Regions from separate parts of the Homo sapiens genome. Here region 1 is linked to region 2. The links are contacts of gene promoters, found by promoter capture Hi-C in blood cells and fetal thymus (Javierre and others, 2016). All regions are on one chromosome and are shown on one strand. Each heading gives the region's core, a stretch centred on a gene start or on the middle of the fragment in contact. The rest is flanking DNA. Distances are from core to core; before and after follow the strand shown.

The links. Contacts are between HindIII fragments. The CHiCAGO score rates a contact against its expected background, and 5 or more counts as called.
Region 1: a contact is called between a fragment that was not itself captured here and the fragment with the promoter of CCDC13 in region 2, in 1 of 17 cell types (neutrophils). The highest score is 5.3, in neutrophils.

The regions. Positions count from the first base shown.
Region 1 is chr3:43,277,864-43,284,275 of GRCh38, reverse strand. No RefSeq gene overlaps it. Among named protein-coding and RNA genes, the nearest start is that of SNRK, 5.5 kb to the left of the region's middle. The HindIII fragment of the contact is 4,142 bases long and covers 1-3,917 here.
Region 2 is chr3:42,771,761-42,777,402 of GRCh38, reverse strand. CCDC13 (coiled-coil domain containing 13) reads left to right here and starts at 4,150. Exons shown (of 16, transcript NM_144719.4): 1 at 4,150-4,227. It overlaps CCDC13-AS2 (CCDC13 antisense RNA 2), which reads right to left. Exons shown (of 2, transcript NR_122070.1): 2 at 3,768-4,198. RefSeq lists an enhancer at 3,970-4,139 and a silencer at 4,270-4,429. The HindIII fragment of the contact is 4,325 bases long and covers 2,445-5,642 here.

The sequences.
Region 1 (6,412 bases), core at 597-3,096, 510 kb before region 2:
ATATGTAACAAGGTTATCTTCTCTGGATATTGTTAGTTTTTGTAATTTATTTCAAATTTTAAAATAAATGTATTTAAAACAACAGACATTGAATATTCATACACAGTTCAATTTTGAGTTGTGACATTTTATTTAACAACATTCCCTTTTACATATTTAACTAGTTATTTCATACATTTATACTTGTGCATTTCTAGATCCTGGCTTCACCCCAGTAGGATCAAAATAATACTTAATTGGAATGACCTAAAGAGTTCCTCAAAGACTCCTTCACCACCCTATGGGCATCAGTTAACATCTTCTACTCTTTTATCTCAGATGTCAGTTAAGGTCCTGTGTGTGTGTGTGTGTGTGTGTGTGTGTGTGTGTGTGTGTGAGAGAGAGATATTTCTGATAGTTGCAAACAAGAATTGGAAATGCCAGTCCTTAACTCTGCTTGTTTGCAACCAGTGAACTAGAAGATAGGACAGACATTGACATTTAACCCCATCTCTACTGCTAAGAGCAAGATGGCTTTGGGAAAGTTGCATAACCTTCTATATGTTTCTTCTGTAAAATGAGAAAGACAGTGATGATAATAATACCTTTCTTATAAGTTTGATGTAAAGCAGTGGTTCTCAAAGTGTGCTCCCTGGACTAGCAGCATCAGCTTCTCCTGGGAACTGGATTGAAATGCAGATTTTCCAGTTCCACCTCAGACCTACTGAATCAGAAACTCTGATTTCTCTGTTTTAAGACTTGCAGGTGATTCTGAGACAGATTAGAGTTTGAGAACCAGAGTTGATGAGATTGAGTTTATATAAAGTATTAGAACAAAGGCTGGCATATAGTAAGCAGTATATTAATGAATATTTTTTAATGTGTGCAATATGATCTTGCCAAAATATGCAAAGTCTAATTTAGGCCAAAAGAAGCATGTCCATGTTGTTCTTTCAGCAAATAAATCCTGATAAATCCCTTATCTAAAAACGTCAATACAGCCTACCAAGCCCTTCCTGATCTGGTCCCTGGCTTCCTCTCCTGCACTTTCTTTTCTGCATGTGTACCCTGTCTCCAGCCTTCCCAGTTCTCACAAAGAGAATTGACTTTTCACAATTCCCAGTCTTTGCCTATTCTGTTCCTTCTGTCTGGAAATGTCACCTACTCCTTTTCTCCACTTACTACACCCGCAGTTTCCTGAATTCCTACTTACCCATCAAAATCCAGCTCCCATGTCACATCCTCTGTGCTACTCCTAACTGTCCCACTCCAGTCAGAGCCAGGAGTTCTCTGGGACCCCCATACCCTCCCACTCATAGTATCATACAGTTTTGTAATTTTATTGTTCCATTTTCTCCCTTTGGATCTTAAACTCTGGGGGGACAAGGATTGTATTTTATTTAAATTTCTATTCCTGCCACCTAGCACTGAGGTTGCAAATAGGCAGTCCCAGGGCTTTTCACCCACAGACTTGTGGCATTGTTTTTCCCCACATAGGTTCTTTAAGAATTTGAATTAGTTGAGAACATTTTTAAATTGGGAGATTTAATACTTTTGTTTAACAGTTTCATTGAATATAATCTGCATACCATAAAATTCACCAATAATAGGTGGACGATTCAATGGTTTTTTAGTAAATTTATAAAGTTATGCAGCCATCGCCCCAATCCACTTTTGAAATATTTTCATCTGGCTTGGGAGAGGTGGCTCACGCCTGTAATCCCAAAACTATGGGAGGCAGAGGTGGGAGGATCACTTCAGGCCAGGAATTCAAGACCAACCTGAGCAACACAGAGAGACTCCGTCTTCACAAAAATAATGAAAAACATTAGCTGGGCATGGGGGCATGCACCTTGGTCCCAGCTACTTGGGAAGCTAAGGTGGGAGGATCACCTGAGCCCAGGAGGGCGAGGCTGCGGTGAGCTGGAATCTCACCCCTGCACTCCAGCTTGGGCAACAGAGTGAGACCCTATCTCAAAAAAAAATTTTTTTATCAACCCCAAAAGGTCTCTCCTGTGCACATGCAATCAATCCCACTCCAGCTTTCAGCCCTCAACACATACTATCTGTTATCTGTCTCTATAGATTTGTGTTTTTCTAGAAATGTCATATAAATGGAATCATACCATGTGTACTCTTTTGTGTCTGACTTCTTTCATGTAGCATAATGTTTTTCCATCTAGCATGTATCAGTAGTTCATTCCTTTTTGTTGCTGAACAGTATTCCTTTATATGGATATATTAGATTTTCTTTATCCATCCAAGTGATAAACATTTCATTTATTTCCAGATTTTTGCTATTATGGATACTGTTGCTATGACTGTTTAAACTCTTAGTGGGGACATATTTTCGTTTCTCTTGGGTACATTGCTGAGTGGAATTTTGGGGTCATGCAATAACTCTATGCTTAACATTTTAAGAAACTGACAAATTATTTCTGAAATGACTGTACCACTTTACATTACCACCAACAGTGTATGAGGGTTCTAGTTTTTCCACATCCCTGCCAACACTTGGCACTGTTAGACTTTTAGATTATTACCATTCTAATACATATATAGTGGTATCTCATGATTTTCATTTGCATTTCCCTAATGACTAATGATGTTCCTTAGCTTTCCATGTGATTTTTGGTCATTCATATATCTTCTTTGATAAAAGGGCTTTTCAAATCTTTTGCCCATTTTTAATTGTGTTGTTTGTCTTATTGTGTTGTAAGAATTTTTTATGCTTTTTGGATATAAGTCCTTAATTAGAAATGTGATTTGCAAATATTTTCTCCCAGGCTGTGGCCTGTCTTTTCATTTTTAAAATGATGTGTTTAGAAGTTATAAAGTTCTGAATTTTGGTGAATTCCAATTTGTCCAATTTTTCTTTCATGATCCTTGGTTTGGTGTCATATCTAAGAATTTTGCTTAAGCAAAGGTCACAAAGATTTTCTTCTCTGGTCTTTTCAAGTTTTATAGTTTTAAGTTTGGCCTTTAAGTCTATGATCCATTTTGAATTTATTTTTACTCATGATGAGAGGTTTAGAGGCTATGGGGCTTTTTTTTTCATTTGATTTTTGCTTATGGATATTTAATCATCCCAGAATCATTTGTTGAAAACGGTATCCTTTCCCAATTAAATTGCCTTGGCAATTTGTTGGCAATCAACTTAATGTAAGGATTTTCTATTCATTTTTGTTGATCTATATGGCTATTCTTACACCATTATGATCCAGTCTTGACTACTATTGTTATATAGTAAGTTTTGAAAACGAGTAGAGTAAGTCTTCCATCTATAGTGTTCTGTTTCAAGATTGTTTTACTATTCTAGGCACGTTGCATTTCCGTGTAAACTATAGGGTCAGCTTGTCAATTTCCACAAAAAAAATTGTTGACTTTTTGAAATTTTGATGAAGATTATGTTATATGAATAGATCAATCTGGGGAGAATTATCATCTTAACAATAATGAGTCTTTCAATTCATGAATATGATATGTATAGTCAGTTTCTTTTCTCTTTTTTTTTTTGAGACAGAATTTCACTCTTCTTGCCCAGGCTGCAGTGCAATGGCACAATCTCGGCTCACTGCAACTCTGTCTCCCAGGTTCCAGCGATTCTCCTGCCTAGGCCTCCTGAGTAGCTGGGATTACAGGCGCTTGCCACCACGCCCAGCTAATATTTTGTATTTTTAGTAGAGTCGGGATTTCACCACGTTAGCCAGGCTGGTCTTGACCTCAGGTGATCCACCTGCCTTGGCCTCCCAAAGTGTTTGGATTACAGGCATGAGCTACCGTGCCTGGCCAGTCAGTTTCTAATAGTTGCTTTTTCCCCCTCATCTTGAGTCCCATTTTCCTGTTTCTTTCCATGTCTCGTATTTTTTATTAAAAACTGGACATTTAAAATTATATGTTGTAGCAGCTCTGGATTCTGATTTTCTCCTTTGAAAGCTTTCCCCCCCTTTCATTAGTAGCTTGCCTGAACTTAATCCGCAGAATCTTCCCTCATGATGTGCAGCACATGATTCTGCTCAGTTGTTTTGTTCTTAGTTATATTTTTTAGTCTGGCTTCCCCATGGTTGCCTCTGTATCTGCATATCTTAATGGTCAGCCAATGATCGGGCAGACATTGTGTCCAAACCCATAAGGTTTCCACACTTTGCTGATGAATCTGTGCATGAATTGAAAAGCAAGGTAGTTTTCAAGCCTACTTCAGCTTTTACTTTCTGCTAAACCCTTTCAGGTCTCCCTGGCACATGTGCTTACCTTCCCAGTCAGCCAGGGATGTGAGGAAAGCTTATCTATCTAGTCCTTCAATGGATCTCTTCTTTACATGCTCTTCCCTTTACATTTTTTCTGGTTCATTCCTTACACCAAGGATTGCAGGCTCAGACTAGCCAAGCTATGTATTTTCCCCCTCTGTTTCCTACCATGTTTACTACTTTTACAGATAATACCACAGAGCGTGGGTTTGTGCCCTCCACTCCAAATCAAATGAGCTGTCTTTCAAAACAACACTACTGGTTTTCATAGCCAGTCATCCCCTGGTAAACACTACCTCACCAACTGAGCTGAGGGTTGGACTGGGGAATGGAATACATACTCCCACTATTAATATCTGAAGTTTTAGAATTTCTTCATGAACGAATATTTCTCTTTTTTCGTTTTTCGGTTTTGTTTTGTTCATTTGATTTTAGTCTATTTCTAGTGTTCTGAAATCATTGTTTTTGCCAGGCACTGTGGCTTACGCTGTAATCCATGCAACTTGGAAGGCTGAGGTGGGAGAATTACTTGAGGCCAGGAGGTTGAGATCAGCTTGGGCAACATAGTGAAATCCCATCTCTACAAAAATTAAAATGTTTAAAAATTTTCAAAAAAGAAATCATTGCTTTTGAAAACTGTGATAGGCAGAATTCTAAGAATGAACCTCAATGACCCTTGCCCTTGTATAATCCCTACCCCTCTGAGTCTGGGTGAAACCTGTATATATGATGAGATGTCACTCCTGTGATATGTAATACTGGCACACCTCACAGATATTGCAGGTTCAGTTCCAGACCACCTCATTAAAGTGAGTCACACAGCTTTTTTTGTTTCCCAGTGCATATGAAGTTATGTTTACACTCTACTGTAGTCTATTAAGTGTATATCTTTAAAAATGTACACACCTTAATTTAAAAACACTTTATGCTAAAAACTGCTAACAATCATCTGAGCCTTCAGTGAGTTATAATCTTTTTGCTGATGGAGGGTCTTGCCTCGATGTTGATGGCTGCTTACTGATCAGGTTGGTGGTTGCTGAAGGTTGGGGTGGCTGTGGCTATTTCTTAAAATAAGACAACAATGAAGTTTGTCTCTTCAGTTGACTCGTGCTTTCACGAAAGAATTCTCTGCAGCAGGTGATGACGTTTGAGTGTGTGATACCCACAGTCGGACTTCTTTCAAAATTGGAATCAATTCTCTCAGACTCTGCTGCTGCTTTATTAACTAAGTTTATGTTGTATTCTAATCCTTTGTTGTCATTTCAACAATATTAACAGCATCTTCATCAGGGTAGGTTCCATTTTAAGAAACCACTTCTTTGCTCATCCATAAGAAGCAACTCCTCATCCATTCAAGTTTTATCTTGATATTATAGCAATTCAGTCACTTCTTCAGGCTCTACTTCTGATTCTAATTCTCTGGCTGTGTCCACCATATTTGAAGAGACTTCCTCCACTGAAGTCTCTAACCCCTCAAAGTCATCCATGAGGGTTGGAATCGACTTCTCACAAACTCCTGTTAATGTCTATATTTTGACCTCCTCCCATGAATCGTGAATATTCTTCTTGTTTTGTTTTGTTTTGTTTTGTTTTGTTTTGGTACAGGGTCTTGCTCTGGTTACCCAGGCTGGAGTGCATTGGTGCAAACAAGGCTCACTGTAGCCTTGATCTCTTAGGCTCAAGTGATCCTCTTGCCTTAGCCTCTCGAGTAGTTGGGACCACAGGCTCGTGCCACCACATCTTGCAATTTTAAAAAAATTTTTGTAGAGATGGGGTCTTGCCCTGTTGCCCAGGCTGGTCTCAAACTCCTGGGCTCATGTGATCCTCCCTCCTTGGCCTCCAAAATGCTGGGATTACAGGCATGAGCCACTGTGCTTGACCATATGAATGTTCTTAATGATATCTAAAATAGTGAATCCTTTCTAGAAGGTTTTCAATTTCCACCAGAGAAATCACTATCTATGGCAGCTATAGCCTTACAAAATATTCTTTTTCTTTCTTTCTTTCTTTCTTTCTTTCTTTCTTTCTTTCTTTCTTTCTTTCCTTCCTTCCTTCCTTCCTTCCTTCCTTCCTTCCTTCTCCTCCTCCTCCTCCTCCTTCTTCTTCTTTTTTGAGGGGAGACAGAGTCTTGCTCTGTCAACCAGGCTGGAGTGCAGTGGCATGATCATGGCTCACTGCAGCCTTGG
Region 2 (5,642 bases), core at 2,901-5,400:
TATGAACACTGGCATACAATTACCTGTTTGAGTCCCTTCTTTATTTTTTATTATTACTTTTTTTGTAGAGACAAGGTCTCGCTATGGTGACCAGGCTGGTCTCGAGTTCCTGGCCTCAAGCAGTCCTCTACCTCAGCCTCCCAAAGGGCTGGGATTACAGGCATGAGACACTGTGTCTGGCCAAGTCCCTTCTTTCAAATCTTTCGGGCATATATTTAGAAGTGGAATTGTAAATCATACGGTAATTCAATGTTTAACTTTTTGAGGAACCACCAAACTGTTTTCTACAGTGGATATACCATTTTACATTCCCACTAGCTCTACATAAGGGTTCCAAATTCTTCACATCCTGGCAAACACTTGTTATTTTCCATTTTTTGGATAATATCCATCCTAATGGGTGTGAAATGGTATCTCGTGGTTTTGGTTTGCATTTCTCTAATGGTTAGTGATGTTGGGCATGTTTTCATGTGCTTATTTGCCATTTGTATATCTTCTTTGGATTAATGTCTATTGAAGTCCTTTGCCCATTTTTGAATTGGGTTTTGTTGTTGAGATAGCTAACCTGATTTTTGACAAAGGTGCAAAAGCAATTCAATGGAGGAAGCATAGCTTTCCAACAAATGGTGCTGGAACAACTGGACACCATAGGCAAAAAAGCAAAAAAGAACCTTGATCTAAATTTCATACCTTTATATAAAAATTACATCAAAATAAATCATGGGCATAAAACTCTAACACTTTTATAAAAATGGGGGGAAATCTTTGGGACCCAGGGCTAGGCAAAGAGTTCTTTCTTAGACTTGAAATCAAAAGCACAATCCATTAAAGAAGGAATTGATAAATTGGACCTTGTCAAAATCAAAGCCTTTTGTTCTGTGAAAGCCCAAGTGAAGAGGATTAAAAGATGAACTACAGATTCGGAGAAAGTATTTGCAAACTACGTATCCAACAACGGACTAGTATATAGAATATATAAAGAATTCTCAAAACTCGACAGTTAGAAATTGGGCAAAAGACATGAACAGACACTTCACCAAAGAAAATATACAGATGACAAATAAGCACATGAAAAAGATGTTCAATATCATTATCCGTCACGTACATTAGAACCACAATGATATCACTACACACCTATTAAAATGACTAAAATAAAAATAGTGACATCAAATGCTGGCAAGGATGTGAAGAAACTGTGTCACTTAAACATTTCTGGTAAGAATGTAAAGTGGAACAGTCACTCTGGAAAACAGGTTTGGCAATTTCTTCTAAAACTAGATATGCAGTTACCATACTACACAGCAATTGCACTCTTGGGCATTTATTCCATAGGAATGAAAACTTATGTTCACACAAAAACCTATACATGAATGTTTATAGCAGCTGAATCATAATTGCTCCTAACTGGAAACAACCCAGATGTCTTTCAGTGGGTAAATGGTTAAACAAACTGGTACATTCATACTAGAACTACTCAGCAATAAAAAGGAATGGATTATTGATACACACAACAACTTGGATGAATCTCCAAGGAATTGTTCTGAGTAAAAAAAAAAAAAAATCCATCCTAAAAAGTGTACATGCTGAGTTATTTCATTTATATAACATTTTTGAAATGACAAAATTTTAGAAATGGAGGGCAGACTGGTGGTTGTAAAGGGTTAGGGACTAGGGCAGGAGGAGGGAGGGAAGTGTACATAGTCATAAAATCACAACAGAGAGATCCTTGTGATAGTATTTGGTATCTTTTTTTTTTTTTGAGACAGAGTCTCACTCTTGTCGCCCAGGCTGGAGTGTAATGGCGCGATCTCAGCTCACTGCAACCTCCACTTCCTGAGTTCAAGCGATTCTCATGCCTCAGCCTCCCAAGTAGCTGGGATTACAGGCAAGCACCACTATGCCTGGCTAATTTTTGTTATTTTTAGTAGATATAGGATTTTGCCATGTTGACCAGGCTGGTCTTGAACTCCTGGCCTCAAGTGATCTGCCTGCCTCAGCATCCCAAAATGCTGGGATTATAGGCGTGCATGAGTCACCATGCCCGGCTAGTATTTGATATCTTGATGGTCATGGATACACAAACTGACACGTGATAAATCAAAAGAAAAGTACAGTTAAATTGGAGAAATCTAAGAGGAGTAGGTTGTATCGATGTCAATATCCTGGTTGTAATATTATACTAAAGTTCTGCAAAATATCATTGTGGAGAACTGGAAAAGTATACAGGGGATCTCTATTATTTTTTACAACTGCATGTGATTCTATAAAAATCTCAATATAATTTCAAATTAAAAAGCAAAAAACAAAGGGCAGTGTCCTACAGATACTTCTGGCTAGAGAAACAAAGTGGGCTGGAATTAACAAACATCTGTATACTGTACATGAGGAAATACTGGTGACCCAGATTGGATTCGCCAGCTTCTTGGATGATAAAATGTCAAGCTTATAAACTAAAGAAAATTCTCAAAAGAATTTTGGGCAGAAAAAAAAAATGGCATGAGAGCCTTAGTGGTGACCGTGGAAAAGTAACAAACCTAGAGGAAAATCATCCCTGCTTTTTAAAAAATGGGTTACTGCAAAAATGATATCCTCGTCAAAAATAATCCTTGGATTGCTGGAGCAAATGTTACCCCTTTCCCAAACTTTCTAATACATACATTCTAGAATGTCGGTTCTGAAATTCTCTTGCATCCTTAATTTTCTCACAGCATGTTCTTATTTTAATGAAAACCTGGCTTTCTGCTAGGATCCATGCTTTCCAGAAGCCCTCTAAGTAGACCTGGCTATTCCTTTTCCTATGCCACATAGTCCCATCGTGGTCATGAGGCAAACGAATGATACTCCCCACTACACACACCATTTAAAAAAAACCCTAATCCTTTGAGGCTCACATCTACCTGAATCCTACTCTTTATCCTGTCTCTCTTTGCTGCCACCTGTATATTATACGTCTCCCACCCTCAGCTCACCAGGCAGCAATTGGAGACCAACGGGAAAGATCCATTTTTCCTTTATCAGGAAACTTCGGGTTTATACCTGCAGTGCTGATGGCAGTCTAGTGCCGTATCTTATGTATGCATGTCTATGGGATGGGTATTCATTCACCTTATGAGGAAAAAAAATAGAAAAACAACTGCCAAGGTTTTCAAATTATGAAGTCCTGGATAAATATTTGGGCAGGAGCTGTGGCTCACGCCTGTAATCCCGGCACTTTAGGAGGCCAAGGTGGGCGGATCACCTGAGGTCAGGAGTTCAAGACCAGCCTGGTCAACATGGTGAAACCCCGTCTCCACTAAAAATAAAAAAATTAGCCAGGTGTGGTGGCGGGTGCCTGTAATCCCAGCTACTCAGGAGGCTGAGGCAGGAGAATCGCTTGAACCTGGGAAATGGAGGTTGCAATGAGCTGAGATCGCACCACTGCACTCCAGCCTGGGCGACACAGCGAGACTCTATCATAGATAGATAGATAGATTAGATAGATAGATAGATAGAAAGAAATCTCCCTTGAATCATCTTTCCTAGAAATTTGCCTCCCACCCCCATATTGCCCTGAAATATAGTAGTGTCTTACATTGGAAGGTGCCATTTAAAAAAAAAAAAACAAGTATTTTCCTTTATGAAAATAAACGATGTTCATTATTTTAAAAATTCTCTAAAGTGTAAAAATAAAAACACAGCACTGCTATTCCACCACCCAAATATAACCACTTTTAATATTTCTATTTCGGTCTTGTTTTAGTGCCTAGTTTGAAATAAACACAACTTTATTTATTTAGCATTGCTATATTGCGTCCTGCTTCCTTCACTCACCATCATAACATGGCCTTTCCCCACACTGTTTTACATTTTTCAAATATATCTGAATGGCTACTTTAAATTTCATGGTGAGATCGTTCGCTTTTTAACTCCCCAACAGGAGAGCGGAATGGGCATCTCTGTGCAGAACGTTTGGTCCACAAAACTTTTTTAAAAATATACTCCAGAAGATTTAAAATCTCCAGCGCACTCGAGATCGTGCTCGCTTGGATCCAGCCCAGCGCGCCATCAGCGCCTCTGTCACTTTCAGAACTCTTGGCGCCCCCTCGGCCCCCGTAGAGTAGCGTTGAAAACGCGCAAGTGACGTCGCTTGTTTCCCTGGTGACGGTTGCCAGGGCAGCGCGTGTCGGCGTCCGGAGGAGGTGACCTAGCCGCCGCGGTCCTAGAAGGGAGAAGTGGAGAGAGACCGCTGTAAGTGCCGGGGAGAGCGGAAGGGCCCGGGCCGGAGCTGGGAAAGCCCGCAGCTGCCGGGGGCGCGGAACCGAGCCCGAGCGCAACCCCAGCCCGAGCGCGCTGCCACTGGCCGGGCGCTCACCGCGTGCTGGGCGCCCAGCGAGGACTCTTCCCCTTCGTCCTTTGAATCTTCACACACAGCCCTCTTCTAACCCAGGCAGACGCTTATTTTCCATGCAGTACATGGGTTAATGAGGCGCAGAGGGTGGGTCGCCTGCCCCAAAGTCATAGCGTAGATGGCACAGTCAGAACTCGAACTCAGGTCCGCCTGACAAGCGCTGTTTGCTGGGCCTCTGCCACTGGGCCCTCTCGCACCGCACTGAAAGATGCGACCCGACGGCGTGCACTTCCGCATCTCCCAGTTCCCCTTCCAGGCCCAGCCCCCACAGGACTGGGGACTCGCAAGAGGGAGTTCCCCTCCAAGCCCGGAGTCCAGCCCTGAGAACCAGAGCATCACCCCGCTCCCATCCCAAACCCATCCCTACGAAGATGCTAGCAGTGCACAGAGCGCCAAACTAGGCATCCGTGGGCGGCCTCCCCACACCTCCAGGCCCCTAGACTGTTGTTGAGAATACTCGAAAAGAACACAGTAAAAGAAAAGAAGAAAGAGAAGGAGAGGGGAAGAGAAAAACAATGAAAAAAGTGGCAGGCCGATGGGGCAAGGGGTCTCAATCCTTCCTCACTGGTCCCTGTCACCTATGGTCCCATATCCTGTGGGATCTTGCTTCCTCATAGGACTCCAGAGTGCATGCCACTCTTCCTACTCCCTGGCTCTAAGTCCTACCTGAGCCAAGAGTTCTTTCCATGCAGCTCTAGCCTTTACTTTATTTTTTTTATTATTACTTTTTTTTTTTTTTTTTTTTTTTGACGGAGTCTCGCTCTATCGCCCAGGCTGGAGTGCAGTAGCGCGATCTTGGCTCATTGCAACCTCTGCCTCCCAGGTTCAAGCGATTCTCCTGCCTTGGGCTCGAGTAGCTGGGATTACAGGCGCCCGCCACCATGCCTGGCTAATTTTGGTATTTTTAGTAGAGATGGGGTTTCACCATGTTGGCCAGGCTGGTCTCAAACTCCTGACCTCAGGTGATCCACCCACCTCAGCCTCCCAAAGTTTTGGGATTACACGCATGAGCCACCACGCCCGGCTTAGCCTTTACTTTTAAAAGAAAATAGACTTAAAGCAGATTTTTAGAAGCATTAAACAAAAAACAGTTCCTTTATGTATTCCGTATTCCCATTTCCTCTGTTGTTAACATCTTACACATTGCATTGGTGTGGTACATTTGTTATCATTGATACAACTATACTGGTATGTTATTACTAACTAAAGTCCATAGTTTACATTAGAGTTCATCTGTTGTTGTTGTTGCTGCTGC